Regions from separate parts of the Homo sapiens genome. Here regions 2 and 3 are each linked to region 1. The links are contacts of gene promoters, found by promoter capture Hi-C in blood cells and fetal thymus (Javierre and others, 2016). All regions are on one chromosome and are shown on one strand. Each heading gives the region's core, a stretch centred on a gene start or on the middle of the fragment in contact. The rest is flanking DNA. Distances are from core to core; before and after follow the strand shown.

Region 1 (4,779 bases), core at 1,027-3,526:
GTTAAAGTTAGGGAACGCGGGAATGAGAAGCAGTGTTTGCAAGGGGTTGAAGTTGCAATTTAAAATGAGACCGGTGACACTCATCAACTAACATTTGAGCAATTAAGTACTTCTGAAGGACACAGGAGTCAGCCAAGTAGATCTCAGGTAAGAGTTTCAGGAAAACACCCTCCGAAGCCAGTACCCAAGGCAAAGATGATACAGATGAGGGGAGGCGGACAACGGAGTCTAAGTGACCCGGAGACTGTCATCCAGGACCCTAATGGGCCGTTTTCAAGACTAGCTTTTACTTCATGAAACTTGGAGCCCCTACAGACAAGCTGAGGAATATTTTACTTCGGATGGATCACTCAGCTACCTGGAGAACACACAAGGTTAGGAAGAATAGGAGACAGGCAACATGGCCACTAACCCAGGTGAGCCACGAGAGACTGCTCTACAGAAGTAGGTAGCAAGAGACTAACCTTGATACAACCTTAAGCAGAACAGACCTTTCAGAGAAGCAGGAACCGCTCACAGCGTGGGTTTCAGAGTTTTTAGCTACCCGCAAGTACTTTGGTTTCTCCCACTTTTACCACCCTCCTAGCCCCCAGAGCCCCAATGGAAAACTTGTACCCACGCTACTGAAAGACGAGACTAGAAGCTTGGACACTTCACATTCCCTGCTCTCCCTTCCACAATTGAGCCACTGCCCTGGTTTTAGAAGTGGGGCTTGTTTTGCTCTGAAGTAACCCTTAACGTCCTTAGAAGTAGCAGCTCCCCTACCCCTCTCCCCACGCCTTTGCCTTTTAAAAACCTTAACTTTTGAGAGAGAGAAACAGCACAAGTTCAGGCCCAGCAGAGTAACCCCTACGTTGTTGCCAGCAACTACTTCAAGGGCAGTTAACCGTGCTTAAAGACGCCAAAAGCATCCATCTCCCGCTTACAACAACATTTAGCTACCCCCCACCCACGTACTTTGCTTTCTCCCACTTTTACAACCCTCCCACCCCCAGAGCCCCGAGGGAAAGCTTGTACCCATTCTACTGAAAGATGAGACTAGAAACTTGTACACTTCACAGCGCCTGCTCTCCAGCTGAGCCACTACCCGGGTTTTACAAGTGGGGCTTGTTTTGCTTTCTTAGGAAATAACCTTTAACTTCCTTAAAAGCAGCAGCGCCCCCACCCCCACTTTTGCCTTTCAAAAGCTAAACTTTTGAGAAAAAGCACGAGTTCAGGCCTAACAAAGAGTAACCCTTACGTTCTTGTTGCCAGTAACTACTTCAAGAAAAAGCACTTAACCGTGCTTAGAGAAAGACGCCAACAGCATTCCTCTTCCACTTACAACAACATTCAGCTACCCGCCCGCACCCCGCCAAATACTTTGCTTTCTCCCACTTTTACAACCCTCCCAGCCCCCAGAGCCCCAAGGGGAAAGCTTGTACCCATCCTACTGAAAGATGAGACTAGAAACTTGGACACTTTACAGCCCCTGCTCTCCCGCCACAACTGAGCCACTACCCTGGTTTTAGGAGTGAGACTTGTTTTGTTTAGGAAATAACCTTTAACTTCCTTAAGACCGACAGCTCCCCCATCCCCCACGCCTTTTTTGCCTTTCAAAAGCTCAACTTTTGAGAGAAAAAGCACGAGTTCAGGCCCAACAAAGAGTAACCCCTACGTTCTTGTTGCCAGCAACTACTTCAAGCAAGGGCACTTAACCGTACTTTAAGAAGACGTAAAAAGCATCCCTCTCCTGCTTACAAAACCCGAGCAGGAGGACTGGCGGCTGGGCAACGCCCGGGACCGGTCAAAAAGGAGAGGCCGGGGAGCGCCCGCCACGCAACGCGGTCACAGGTACAGAGAGGTTTTTCCAGACCCCCACCAAAGCCCGCCAGTACTTTCAGCGTCTTTAAGACCCCCCCGCAAATAAACTTCCTACAGCCCAGCTTCTCCTACAAGCTAGCAACAGAAAGGCACCCACCCCCCGACTCCCAGAAGCATTCTGACGCGGCTGCTTGTCTGCGCCGCCTTTTCAAGGGCCCGCGGGGCGTGCTATACGTCACTTCCGGGGCGGGGCGAGCAAGGCGGAGGCGGGGCCGGGGCCGGCGGGGGAGGGGAGCGCCAGGTCCGCGCAGGCTCGCCGGGACCGCAGCCGCCGAGCCGAGCGCTTGACTATATATGGTCAAAGCTGGGGGCGAGCCGCGCGCGGGACCGCGCTTCCGGGTTCGGGGCGTCCGCAACCACAGCGCGCAGGGCAGGCGCGAGCTGGCCTCTGAGCCCCGGCCTCGGACCGCCCACTCCACTCCCGGCACGCCCGGTGCCGCCTTCCGGCTCCAGTCCCCGGGCTCGGCCTCGGCGAGGTGTAATTCGCAGCGCGGGCCGGCCCCGGAGGCTCTCGGCGAGCGCGGCGCGGTAACAAGTGGGCGAGGATGCCGTACGAGATCAGTAAGTGCCGCGGCGCGGGGCCCCCGAGCGGCCGCCGCGCTGCCCCGGCCCCGGTCCCCGGCCCCTAGGCGCCGTGCGGGTGGCGGGGGAGTCCTCGGCGCGGGGGAGGGGTGCGGGCGCCGGCCGGAGGCGTGGCGGGGCCGCCCTCGGTGGTGCAGGGCGGGACCCCCGACGGGGGGTGCGCCCCCAAGTTGGCGCCGTGGGCCGAGCCGGAGGAGCCCCGCTGCCCCCAAGGGCCTGGCCCGGGGCGCGGACCAGGAAGTCGCGCGGTTCCTGGCGCTCGTGGAAAGTGGAGGCCGCCCTCCCGGCGCAGTCAACAGGTGACCGGCCGAGACCGGTCCGGGGCTCCTTCTCCCTTCTGTCCCCGCCGTCCCCGCCCTGCCCTGACATGCCCCGCCGCATTTGTGTCTCCGCAGAGAAGGTGTTCGCCAGCCTCCCGCAGGTGGAGAGGGGCGTCTCCAAGATCATCGGCGGCGACCCTAAGGGCAACAATTTTCTGTACACCAATGGAAAGTGCGTCATCCTAAGGAACATCGACGTGAGTACCCCCTACCCCGGGCGCGGTTCTGCTCCGGAGCCACCTTGGGATGGGATAATTCGCCTTCCTCTCCACTTCTCACCTCCTGCCCATTGGCCCGGGGAGGGTGAGGGCGCCACGCCCCCTCTACCGGGAGCCACACCTCGGAGCCCCGGAAGCCGGCCTCAGATTCACCCAGGTCCTTGTCTGCTCCTTCTTGATGAGGAAACTGAGTCTTAGTTCGTTTCTGTCTACGGTCATAGCACCCTGAAAGCGCCGGATCGCCTCTGATCTTGGAAGCTAAGCACGGTCAGGCCTGGTTAGTACGTGGATGGGAGATTAGATTAGTTCATTCCTTAAAAGCAAGGGCTCCGGATTTGAGGGATCAGACTGACCCGGTCGGCCGCTGCGTGACCTTGAGAAGATTGGCGATTTGGGCATCTCTGAGCCCCAGTTTTCTCGTCTGTAAAACAGATGATGAGATGATGACCACTCTCGCTTCGCCTGCTGGCTGGGCAGATGGAATGAATGAGCTGCTGGCGTCCCTCAAGCCCAGCGGTGCCTGGTGCACTTTGAGCCCTTGCTGAATGGAATGGCACTCAGCTAACTCGCTGTTAATACCCTGGTCTTCCAGTATGGCAGAGCCCGGAAAAACACCCGGGCCTCTGGGCCAGCCAGATCTGCCACCATGGATCTAAGCCCCAAAGCAAAAACAGGAAGCAGTGTTTTCCCATGAATCATTCTCTGCAAGCCTCCGGTACCCAGGCTGAAAAGGCTTCTAGAGCCAGCTCCTTGGGAAATCCTTGCAAATTCATGTTATTCCTCTGTAATTGTTGGGGTGACCCAGTCTGTCAGTCTCCCTCCCTTCCTGGGTTACACGCTTAAATTTTGCTTTTCCCTTCCTCAGCCTGAGTGATGGAATTGGTGGGGTGGGAGTTGGAGGTGCCGGCCCGGCCATTGGGTGATTTCTCCTGTGCTGTGCTTAGTGGGGGCGGCTGGCACAAAGATGTATGTTTTGATTGATGCCATAGGCATACAAGGGTTGTCAACTTAAAGTCAGCCTGATTTCCCTTGGTAGGTTGGGACTGTTGATCGGACACACTTGCCCTCCAGGAGGCCAGCAACTGGCTGAGGGAATGAAGGGGTCTCTGGGTCTCAGTTTCCTTCTCTGTGAAAGGAGAAGCCTCTTGGTCCGAAGAGCTGCTGGCTCTGCCCGCATCTGTCTCGTTAACCCAGGCAGTCGCTGCTGTTCCTCTGCTGGAAGACAGAGCTCTACCTGCCCTGGATTGCTGGGCCCCTCAAATGAGGGGGTGGGCGGGTGTGAATGTGCTTTGAAGGTGCTAACAACTTGCTAGTCACACAGATTCCTAGAAAGCCGAAGGGCCTTGCTTAGAACTGGAGAAAATCACCAGGGATCTAATGGTAATGATCTGGAAGTCTCCGAAGGCAGGTCCTGAGGCTTTTGAGAAAATAAAAATTGAGACAACCCTAAAGAGATATTTAGTAGTTTGGCAAATAAAATCCACTAACACGTCCTCGGATACAGAGCAGTAGGATATTTCGTTTTGCCCCTAACCAGGCCTTCCCTGTCGTTGCAGTCCACATTGACTTCCAGGGAGGGGGCCTCACATAAAGTACCTGCTGTGCATCTGGCCCTGTGATAGCTTCTTAAACTGTAGCATCTCTTTCCACCCCACATGGGTCCGTTACTCTAAAGAGGAGTCAGACTTAGCAAGGTGAGGCAGGCCAGTAACTGGAGCTGCTTCTAATGGAGTGGTCATTCAGGGACAGGCACCCCTTTGCAGAAAGCATTTCCCAGCTTGTGAAACCCATTCTGC
Region 2 (4,779 bases), core at 1,151-3,650, 1.4 Mb before region 1:
AGCAGGAAATAGATGAAGAAAAAGATGGTTAAGTATTATTTTTAAATAGGGGGAGAAAGGACAATGTAAGGATCTGAAAGAATCTGGAAGGAATACAAGGCAAAGAACAAACATTCACTAACAGTCTTCTTTTTTTTTCATGGGCAATTTGGCAGCTGTTGGTATCATTTTTTATGATGTGGGATTCTAGAGGGACATTTTACTTATTGGATGATTGGTTTAAATTCGCTATTCTTCAAAAAATAGCAGGGCAGGGAGGGTGATGGTTTACATTTAGGCCTTGAGTTACTGCTCTGTCATTCTGTCAAAGCCTGAGGGAATATCAAAAAAAACCCTTCTATTCACTTCAATGAATAATGTATGTCGTATTTCTTTATTCTTCCCCATAGCAAACACCAATCAGAAACATCAGAAACAAACAGACCACAGAAAACCAGAGTCAAAACCGGCATTTTGTCAACTGATTAGATAGCAGTTAGTTTAATGCTAACATTAATCAAGGGCTGATTGCTCCATTGTGAGGAACAAGGACTATGTGCAAAGATTAATACACAAGATCTGGTTCAGAATATCTCTGCAGAAACCCCAATGCAGTAATTAAGAAGAACACAAAATGAAGGTTATTGATCCGTTATGTTATTGAGAAACAACATAATTGATATGTTAAATCTTAATTGTTCATTCCAAAGTAAAAGAGACAGTTCTCACAGATCATTAGTAACAAGATTTTTTTGTTGTTTTTATCATTTAAAACAAAATATTGAGTTCATATGTTACCCTACTTCAAATAAACATTGATTTAATTGTCAAGAAATCTTCATTTGTAAGTATTTAAAATTATCATTCTTTGGACAAATCTGAGGCAATAGAATTCAGGCTTTGGAGTCAGACAGATTCTACTCATCTGACTTTGGGGAATCAAGTTTGTCATTCGATCTCTCTGGGCCTCAGAAATCTCTTTTATAAAGTGGCAATGATAATGGCCACCTCACCAATTTGTTAGAGGGATTCAGGGAGAAAGTCGATGTCTAAGAGCCAGTCTAGAACACTGCCTAGCAGCAAAGACAATGGATCAAAACCACTGTCTTTCAAACCCAGCTTTGCCACTGATCAGCTGTGCAACCTTAGACACATTACTTAACCTCTCTGTGTGCCAATTTCCACATCTCTAAAGAGGAATAATAGTAATAGGCATTTCTGACAGCGTTCTTGTGAGGATTAAATAAATGAAGTGTTTGGAAGGTGGTCTTGAAAATTATAAGCACTAGATAACTGTTCATGTATTGCTATTATTTGAAAGGGTTTAGGAACATAGCTGATTCTTAATAGATATCCACTGCAGCATTTCCCCCTTTGCAGCTGGATGTTCAATGATTTAAACCAGAGCTCTTGCCTTTTTTTATATATATGTACAAATGAACAGGAAAGGAGACAAATTAAAGCAAGGTCTGTTGTTCTGTTTGCCTTGTGCAGTGGTGCAATCTCAGCTGACTGCAACCTCTGCCTCCCAGGTTCAAGCAATTCTCCTGCCTCAGCCTCCCAAGTAGCTGGGATTACAGGCATCTGCCACCAGGCCCAGATAATTTTTTTTTTTTTTTTTTTGTATTTTTAGTAGAGATGGCATTTCACCACGTTGGCCAGGCTGGTCTTGAACTTCTGATCTCAGGTGATCCACCAACCTCAGCCTCCCAAAGTGCTCTGGGATTACAAATGTGAGCCACTGCGCCCGGCCCGCCTTGTTCATTTTTACATGGAACTTCCAGGAAGCCTCCTTTTGCCTAATTCCTTAATGTGAAAAGATAATACAGGAAATATGAAGAAAGCTTGATGGAGGAAGACGAAGATAAATAATTGAGAAATAAAGACTCAAGGAGAAATAGATTGCTCTAATCAGGAAACAGATTCCAATTCACATCTTGACAAAAATTTGAGGACAACTTGCCTTCAAAAAACCAGAATAGGGCGTTGGAAAAAAAGAAATTGTAAGATAACAAGACTTCTTGGGGGTTAAAAAATACTACATGTAAAATTAAAGGGAAAAAATACATGGGCTAAAGGTAAAGTCAAAGAAATTGCACAGAACTTAGATATAAAAAGATAGAGAAGAACGTAAGAGAAGAAACAAATCCAGTGGTCCCGGCATTGAATAAAAGGAATCCTGGACAAGAGTAATAGCGACAAGACAGGGAAGGATATTGCCAAAGATATAATACAAGAAAAGTGTGTAGAACTGAAGGAAATGGAAATCTTCAAATGGAAAATGTCCCATCCACAATAAGATACAACCACACTTCCACTAGAATAGTTAATATTAAAAAATAAATAGGGAAAAATGGAAAATACTAACTGTTGATGAATATTCAGACAAACTTATACTTTCATGCACTGCAAGTAGAAATATAAAACAGTACAGCCTCTTTAGAAAAAATAATTGTCGATACCTTATAAACATAAATAAGTAATTACCAGATGACCCAAGAGTCTCACTCCTAGTTATTTGCCCAAGAGAAGTCAAAATATCTGGCCACACAAACACCTGTAAATAAAAGTTTATAGCATCTTTATATGATATCAAGAAGCAACTCAAAGGACCATCAAATCATCAGTTGGTGATTGGATAAATAAATTTTGGTACATACCAACAATGGAATGCTACAGTAACAATAAACAATAATGGAATACTACAGTAATAATAAGAAACAAGCTACTGATATATTCAACAACATGAATAAATCTCAAAAGTATTATGTGAAAGAAGTGAGACACAAAGGTCTGTATACTGTTTGAGTCTATTTATGTCACATTCTGGCAAAGACAAAATAAAGAGATGGAAATAAGGTTAGTGGTTGTCAGAAATTGGAGATGAGGAGTTGAGATCAATTAAGAAGGAGCAAGAGGGAACTCTTGGTGTTGCTAGAAATATTCTATATCATCAGTTGGTGATGAATACATGATAGTATACCTTTATGAAAGCTTAAACTGTACTTCGAAAGAGTAGATTCAATTATTTGTTAACCCTTCAGCAAATATGATGCCAGTAAAAAGGAAAAGGCCCACTAAGTGCCAAACGAGATGGTTTTTTGAAAGCTCTCATTAGGGATGTCGTTTAAAAAATTCAGGCTGGGTGTGGTGGCTCACACCTATAATACCAGCACTTTGAGAGACTGACGTAGGCGGTTTACCTGAGGTCAGGAGTTCCAGACCAGCCTGGCCAACATGTTGAAACCCTGTCTCCACTAAAAACACAAAAATTAGCTGGGCATGGTGGTGGATGCCTGTAATCCCAGCTACTTGGGAGGCTGACACAGAAGAATTGCTTGAACCTGGGAGGTGGAGGTTGCCGTGAGCTGAGATGGCACCACTGCACTTCAGCCTGGGTGACAAGGAAAGACCCCAAGTCAAAAAAAAAAAAAAAAAAAAATAGAACACTAATGATAAAACAAAGAACCTACAGTCTTATGGAGAGGTTAGGGTATCTTCAAATACATCAGGAACACTGGATGCCAGAAAACAACAGAGAAAGGATTTCCAAGATGTAAGGGACAAACAGTTTCCAACCCAGAATTTTATACACAGCCAAATTGTCAGGGAAGATAAGAATGAAGTTTATTTCTCACATACACTCTTAGGAAGTTCCTTGAGAATGTACTCCAGCATACACGAAAATAAAAAAAAAAAGATGACATGACCACCAGAAAGTGGTGAGATCAATACAGGGCAGTAGAAACAGGAAGTCTAGAGAATGTTGTTAATGAAGCCATTTTACAGGGCAAATAATCTGTATTGGGTTAAAAGAATGAAAAGAATGATCACCCCCTAAAAAGGGATAAATCAGAACAGATAGTAAGGTTGGAAATGTAGAAACAAGAGGCATAAGTAGGCTGGGCGCAGTGGCTCTGGCCTGTAAACCCAGCACTTTGGGAGGCTGAGGCAGGAGGATCACTTGAGGTCAGGAGTTTGAGACCAGCCTGGCCAAGACGGCAAAACACCATCTCTAATAAAAATAGACACACACACACACACACACACACACACACACACACACACAAAAATAGCCAGGCGTGATGGTGAGCAGCTGTAATCCCAACAACCCAGGAGGCTGAGGTACAAGAATTGTCTCAACCCTGGGAGACAGAGGTTGCAGTGAGCCGAGATTGCGCCACTGCCCTCCAGCCTGGGTGACAGAGCAAGACTCTCTCAAAAAAAAAAAGAAAAAAGAAGAAGAAGAAGATGAGGAGGAATAAGATGAAAGCACAATTTGCAAAAAAATTTAAGAAGAGAAAAGAAAACCTTCCAGGGAAACAAAACTGTATAAGAAAACTGTGATTCATATTTGAAGCCATCATGAAACATTGGAAGAGAAACTCAGCAGGCTTCGGGAAGGACATTCCAGTGGGTTTCAAGCACACCTTCACATCTATATCTGTGCATAATGTCGGGGGACAGGGCAGGATCTAAACACAGAACGATGCTGATGTCACTACATGCAAATCACACAGATTCGCTGAGAAAACTCACTGAAGTTGAAAATGAAACAGCAGAATTATATATTTGTGAAAAAAAATCAAATTTGAGAATTTGGTGTAAAGAATTGATCGGATGTGTAAGAGTTAATGTTTTCCTTTTATTATCAAAATGTAAACCTGGCACATAAAATTAACAAGTAATTGTGTGGAATTAAAACAGATTTGTTGGATATGATATAAACTCTAAGCATAAACATTTACCTGTTTCCCCACTATCTTCATCATTCAAGTGAAATTGTTAGCAGGAAGATAT
Region 3 (4,779 bases), core at 1,416-3,915, 1.3 Mb before region 1:
TGGAGATATCTTATTTTTTCATCTCTCTCTTAGTAACTGGCATAGTGTTGTACACATACTAGGTGCTCAATAAAGACTTCGAGATCTTAAAATATTAGCAGTACAGAGATCTTCCACTAAAACCCTCTCATTTTTCAGTTGTTGGAACTGATAAAAAGAGTCTTGGGCCACACAACTGACTGACAGACACTTTTGCAGTCAACTACTACTGTGTCTCCTAACAGCCTCTATTCTCATGCCCACGGCTTTGAAAGGGAAACATGTTTGACTTAAACCCTGACTCCTTGAGGGAAGTTCCATTTACAAAGTTTTTTTTTTTTTTTTTTAAGAGCATAGTATGTTTCAGATACCATGCAGGATTGTAGGATTCTGGGATTCAGATACCATGGAGGATTCATCATTAAATCACGATACCCAAGCTCAAGGCGTTTATAATCTATTAGAGAAGACAGATCCCTAAATAGATGTTTCAATAATGTGATTGTGTTGTCATAGGAGAGCTAAGCTCTGGCACTACATGAGCTTCTGGATAAGAAACCTAACTCATGACCAGAAGACTTCAGGGAGAGCTATTTAGGAGCAGTGGCAAATGCCTGGACATACACATAAAACTAAGTAAGAACAAAATAGCCAGTTGGTGTTTTTATTTATCTGAATGTAAGAACATAGATTATCGATCAATGAACAATTGCTCAGATTTAAAAAGAAATGAGGAAAACTAAAATGTTAGTCCTCAAATTCCTGTCACTTCCCACATGTGCCCTGCAGTCATTTCCTGCAAATGGAAACTTCCAACAAAATCTCTGGGCTGGAGACCTGGGGTTCCAGTTTCTTTCAAGGTCTTGTGGTAGGGAACTAAGTGGGTGAGTAACCTGCCTTTGGCTTCCAGGGTGCAAACAGAATCATTGCTAACCCCCTTTGTGTCTCACAATGGGTAATGAAATTCATACTATGGCACCAAAGCACTTTGAGCTCTTTAGAAAAAGTAATCATACCAACTTAGAGCATTAAAACCACCCCGTATTTTGAAGGACTCATGATCTGCACTGTGCTTGGCTGCTGGTGGAAGCTTAAAGACACCAGTAATTGGCAGAACTTTATCTTAGACTTCCATTTGACCCTCACAACCTCACACATGATTTTACACAGCTTCCTATAATGGGGGAGAAAAGCCCTTCTTTTAAATCTAATGTTAGTTTAAATGCTAAGGCTTTCAAAGTGGGCCTTTAAAGTCACTTTTTAGAATTTGTATTTTTTTTTAACCTAAAATAGACATGCCAACATTATTCTGACTAAAAGAAGTAGACAAGGTCATTCAACTCCTAAAAGCTTATTTTCCAAAAGCACAGTTAGGTCTCAGCTTTCAGGGTGCTTCTGGCTGTATCAAAAAGACAGAATATACTGGTCACTGTGTTGTTTTCTGAAAGTGCCGAGGGTAATCTGTGTATGAGTTAAAGGGCCAATTTCCTATAGGAACCTTCTCTTAGATGGGATTTTTTTTTAATTAAACAATGTTGGTGAAATATATTTAAACGTAAATCACAAATTCGAAGTCTTCCAAATATTTATTTACTAATGTGGAAGACATGGAAACTACAGTAATCTCATTTAAAGGAAGTTACTTTGATGTGCATTTGCTTTTGGCGGGGTATGATTGCTGACCTGCCTTTGAGGGCAACTTCCTTTGGCTCAGGTAAGCAGGCAAACCCGTTTCTCCAAGGCGATTCCAACCCCACGCCCCTCAAAACCTTAAATCTTAAATTGAGTTATTGGGTGCAGGTCCTTTCTCCCACAGAACCTCCCAGCTTCCGGAATAGAGGAGCGGGGCAGAAATATCCTGCTTTTTATTTCAGAGCTGACGTTTGCAATCCTAGTGCACTAGCGGAAAAAAAAAAAAAAAAAAAAAAAAAAAAAAGCTGAATTTTCCGCGCTCTCCTGGCAAATTGGCGTCCGCTCTCCGACGCTAAACCAAAGGAAAAGGAGTGTTCAATGGCGACAGGGCGCTCTTTGAAGCCGGCTCCTCACGCGGATTCTGGCCCAGGCCGCCGCTCCGGTCCCAGTCCGGCTGCAGAGCGAATTGGAGAGGATGGCACCTCCTGCTTCCCGGGGGGCGGAAGGAGCGCCAGCGCCTAAGGTGGGTCACCTGCCAGGAAGGGAATACGCATGGTGCAGACTCACGTGGGAGGAGCACAGGTCCCGGGTACAAGTGCCGAGCTGGCGACTTAGAGAAGAGGTAGACTCGGGCTCAGACCAAGCAGGCGTAAGGGAGTAGACGGGACGTCCCGTGTTTGCAGTGACGGCGGAGTCACCCATCCCAGCAGCCTCACCTTCTTGGAGCGCTGGTCCCTCCCCTTGGACTGAAACCCCAGGGGCCACCGCACCGGGTGGGCGGGACCGACTACTACCCGACCAGCCGCTGGAGCTGCGTGCCAGGCGGGGCTGTGCGGAGCAGCTGAGCGCAGAGCGGAGCACCAGGCACCTAGCGGGCCGGACTCTGGGCGGCACCCGAGCGGGCCGGGCAGCAGTGGGCGCTCGCGATCCTCCTCTGCCCAACGCGCTCTCCCTCCGGGCCCGGCCTCCTCCGTCCCCTCCTTTTGCTCCCGCTCCTCCTCCCGCTCCTCCCCCTCCTCGGGATTGAGCACCAAAACGCCCGCCTGCAAGGTCCTCTGCGCCCTGGCAGCCAGGAGTCGCCGCCACGACAGCCGGGTCTCAGTGGGTGCCTGCGCCTTCTCCCCGCCCGCCTGCCCCGGGCCATCCAGAAACTTGCTCTACCCGCCGCGGGTGCTCGGCAGTGCTGCCCATGGCCCAGCCTAGGAGCCTATTTAGGGCGCCGGACGGGCTGGACAGAGGCGCGGCTCAGGTGAGTGCGGCGCGCGCGGGGTGGGAGAGTGGCAGGACGCAGGTGTAGAGGGCTCCGAGGTGCCTTTGTCTGGCGTTCTGGACTTCGGGCAAGTGCAGAACCTAAGAAGAATCGAGGCTGGAGCAGGTGGAGTGGATGCAGAGGGAACCAGGAAGCAAAGGCTGGGGATTTTCCCATCCTCCTCACCTCCTGCCCTAGCACCTCTGCTCTGGAAGTCCCGAGGGACCGGTTGATCTGTAAGGACAGGGACCCAGATTTCTGACTCTTACTGGGTTGGATGTTTTCCCCCCCTGCAGAGTCGTGAGGTTCGCTCCTGCCGGCCGCTTCGCGACCGCAGCTTCACCATAGGACCCTGTAGGGCAGCGAGAGCGCAGCACTCAACGGATCCTGGGTACCACCTGGGGCCAGAAACTGGGGCGAGGACACAGCCCGCAAAAGTAACTCGGCTGAGGGAGCCTTTGGGGGTGGAGAAGCCTTGGTCGGGTTTGCCTTTGCATTTGGTTGGAGATAGGCATCTCCCAAAGAGAGAGATTGAGGTGACAGCCCTGACAATAAACCTCTCATCCCTAATGCCAATTACATGAGGGTCTTGATTTTTTTCTTGTTACTTTTTACTGATTTTTTTCCCCCTTCGTGGTTTTCTATTTCCGGGCCCTTGGGTAGTGGCAGCGGATGGAGGTGAGGGATGGCGGGGTGCGAACCCGCGGTTGGAACGCCTAGACCCCAGCTCCCAGGAAGGGTCTTATTCGCGGAGCTTGACCTCTCCAGGTGCGCTCTACCAGCCAGGGGGCGGACGGCGCGCTGCTCCTCCTTCTAGCCCCAGCCTGTCCCAGGAAGCGGAGGACAGACCCAGAACGTAGGCGGATGATGGGAAGAAGAAGCTGGAGCCAAAGCCGGGTGCCGGCGCGGGATGGGGTGTGCTGGGCTCTGCAGTTATAGGTCTATAACTCTGCAGTTATAGGCGCTATAGGTCTTCCATCTCTTTCCCTCCCCTGGGAGCCAGCGATTCCTCGCACACTCAGGGCGCTCTCTTGGGCCAAGGGTTGCATCCTCCCTCTTCCTCCTCCTTTGCAGATCCAGTGGTACCCTTGCCTCGCCTTGCGCGAGTCTCGCTCCTCCCTTTCCCACAATGTTATCATGAGCTATTTTTATCTACAACTTGTGCCAAGATGCTTTTGGGGGGATTCTAGGGAGGCCACTCCAAATCCACTGTCTTTGCGCTGCGCTCCGAGAAACAGTCTCCTGTTAGCATGGAGCAGCCTCAAGGAGTGGCGGGGAGGGTGGCCGAGAACGGAAGGAGCCAGTCCGCCCTCTTCTCCTCCCTCAGCCCTAGCCCCGGAGGGAAACCCCGCCACCACCAGCTCGGCTGCGCCTCCCGCCAGTAGCCCCGGAAGAGGGTCCCCAGACGAGTCCCCACGCTCCCGCTTTCAGGCGCTGGGTGCTTGGACACTGCTGAGGCAGCAGCCTGGCACAGGCAGGATCCTTCATTCCCACCCGTGCGTTCTCGCTTTGCAGGCAAATCTCATTTTATTTTGTTGAAATGCTTCCACCCAAGGGTTAATTCCAGGAATTCCATCTTTAAAAAAAAAAGAAAAAAAAAGGAGGGAGAAATAACCCAACTTCTGCCTCCCTGCATTTCTAAAGCAAAGCGCATCCTTTGACGTTCGGATTTTTTTCTTGCTTTCTGCATTCCTGGTAATATTGGGTAACACTGGGTGCAATTAGAATAAGCCTTACCTACTGAAATTCCAGGAGACGCGCGCTCCGCTGCAAATCCCTGCCTTACCCTTCCCGTTGTACATCCAGCGCTTAGATTTTCCCCCACAGGATTGCAGAAATAACATATTGAAATGGACCATTGTGTTACATAAGGTTTTCTCCAGCGCTAAGCAGAGAAAGAACAGCTTCTAAAAGAGTCT

The links. The method cuts DNA at HindIII sites, captures the fragments that hold promoters and counts their contacts. A CHiCAGO score of 5 or more calls a contact.
Region 2: a fragment that was not itself captured here is called in contact with the fragment with the promoter of WDR1 in region 1 in 1 of 17 cell types (M0 macrophages); the score reaches 5.2 in M0 macrophages.
Region 3: a contact is called between the fragment with the promoter of HS3ST1 here and the fragment with the promoter of WDR1 in region 1, in 6 of 17 cell types (M0 macrophages, fetal thymus, naive B cells and 3 more). The highest score is 11.4, in M0 macrophages.

The regions. Positions count from the first base shown.
Region 1 is chr4:10,114,296-10,119,074 of GRCh38, reverse strand. It overlaps WDR1 (WD repeat domain 1), which reads left to right and starts at 2,276. Exons shown (of 15, transcript NM_017491.5): 1 at 2,276-2,424; 2 at 2,841-2,962. The coding sequence starts at 2,409. LOC124900666 (a long non-coding RNA gene) reads right to left here and starts at 1,986. Exons shown (of 2, transcript XR_007058030.1): 1 at 1-1,986. It also overlaps the pseudogene RNA5SP155. RefSeq lists enhancers at 775-864, 945-1,044, 2,815-2,964, 2,615-3,419 and silencers at 1,965-2,084, 2,095-2,504, 2,585-2,734. The HindIII fragment of the contact is 9,752 bases long and covers 1,420-4,779 here.
Region 2 is chr4:11,489,992-11,494,770 of GRCh38, reverse strand. No RefSeq gene overlaps it. Among named protein-coding and RNA genes, the nearest start is that of HS3ST1, 63 kb to the right of the region's middle. The HindIII fragment of the contact is 1,150 bases long and covers 1,826-2,975 here.
Region 3 is chr4:11,426,780-11,431,558 of GRCh38, reverse strand. It overlaps HS3ST1 (heparan sulfate-glucosamine 3-sulfotransferase 1), which reads left to right and starts at 2,665. Exons shown (of 2, transcript NM_005114.4): 1 at 2,665-2,860. RefSeq lists a silencer at 2,520-2,699 and an enhancer at 2,790-3,009. The HindIII fragment of the contact is 3,893 bases long and covers 1,332-4,779 here.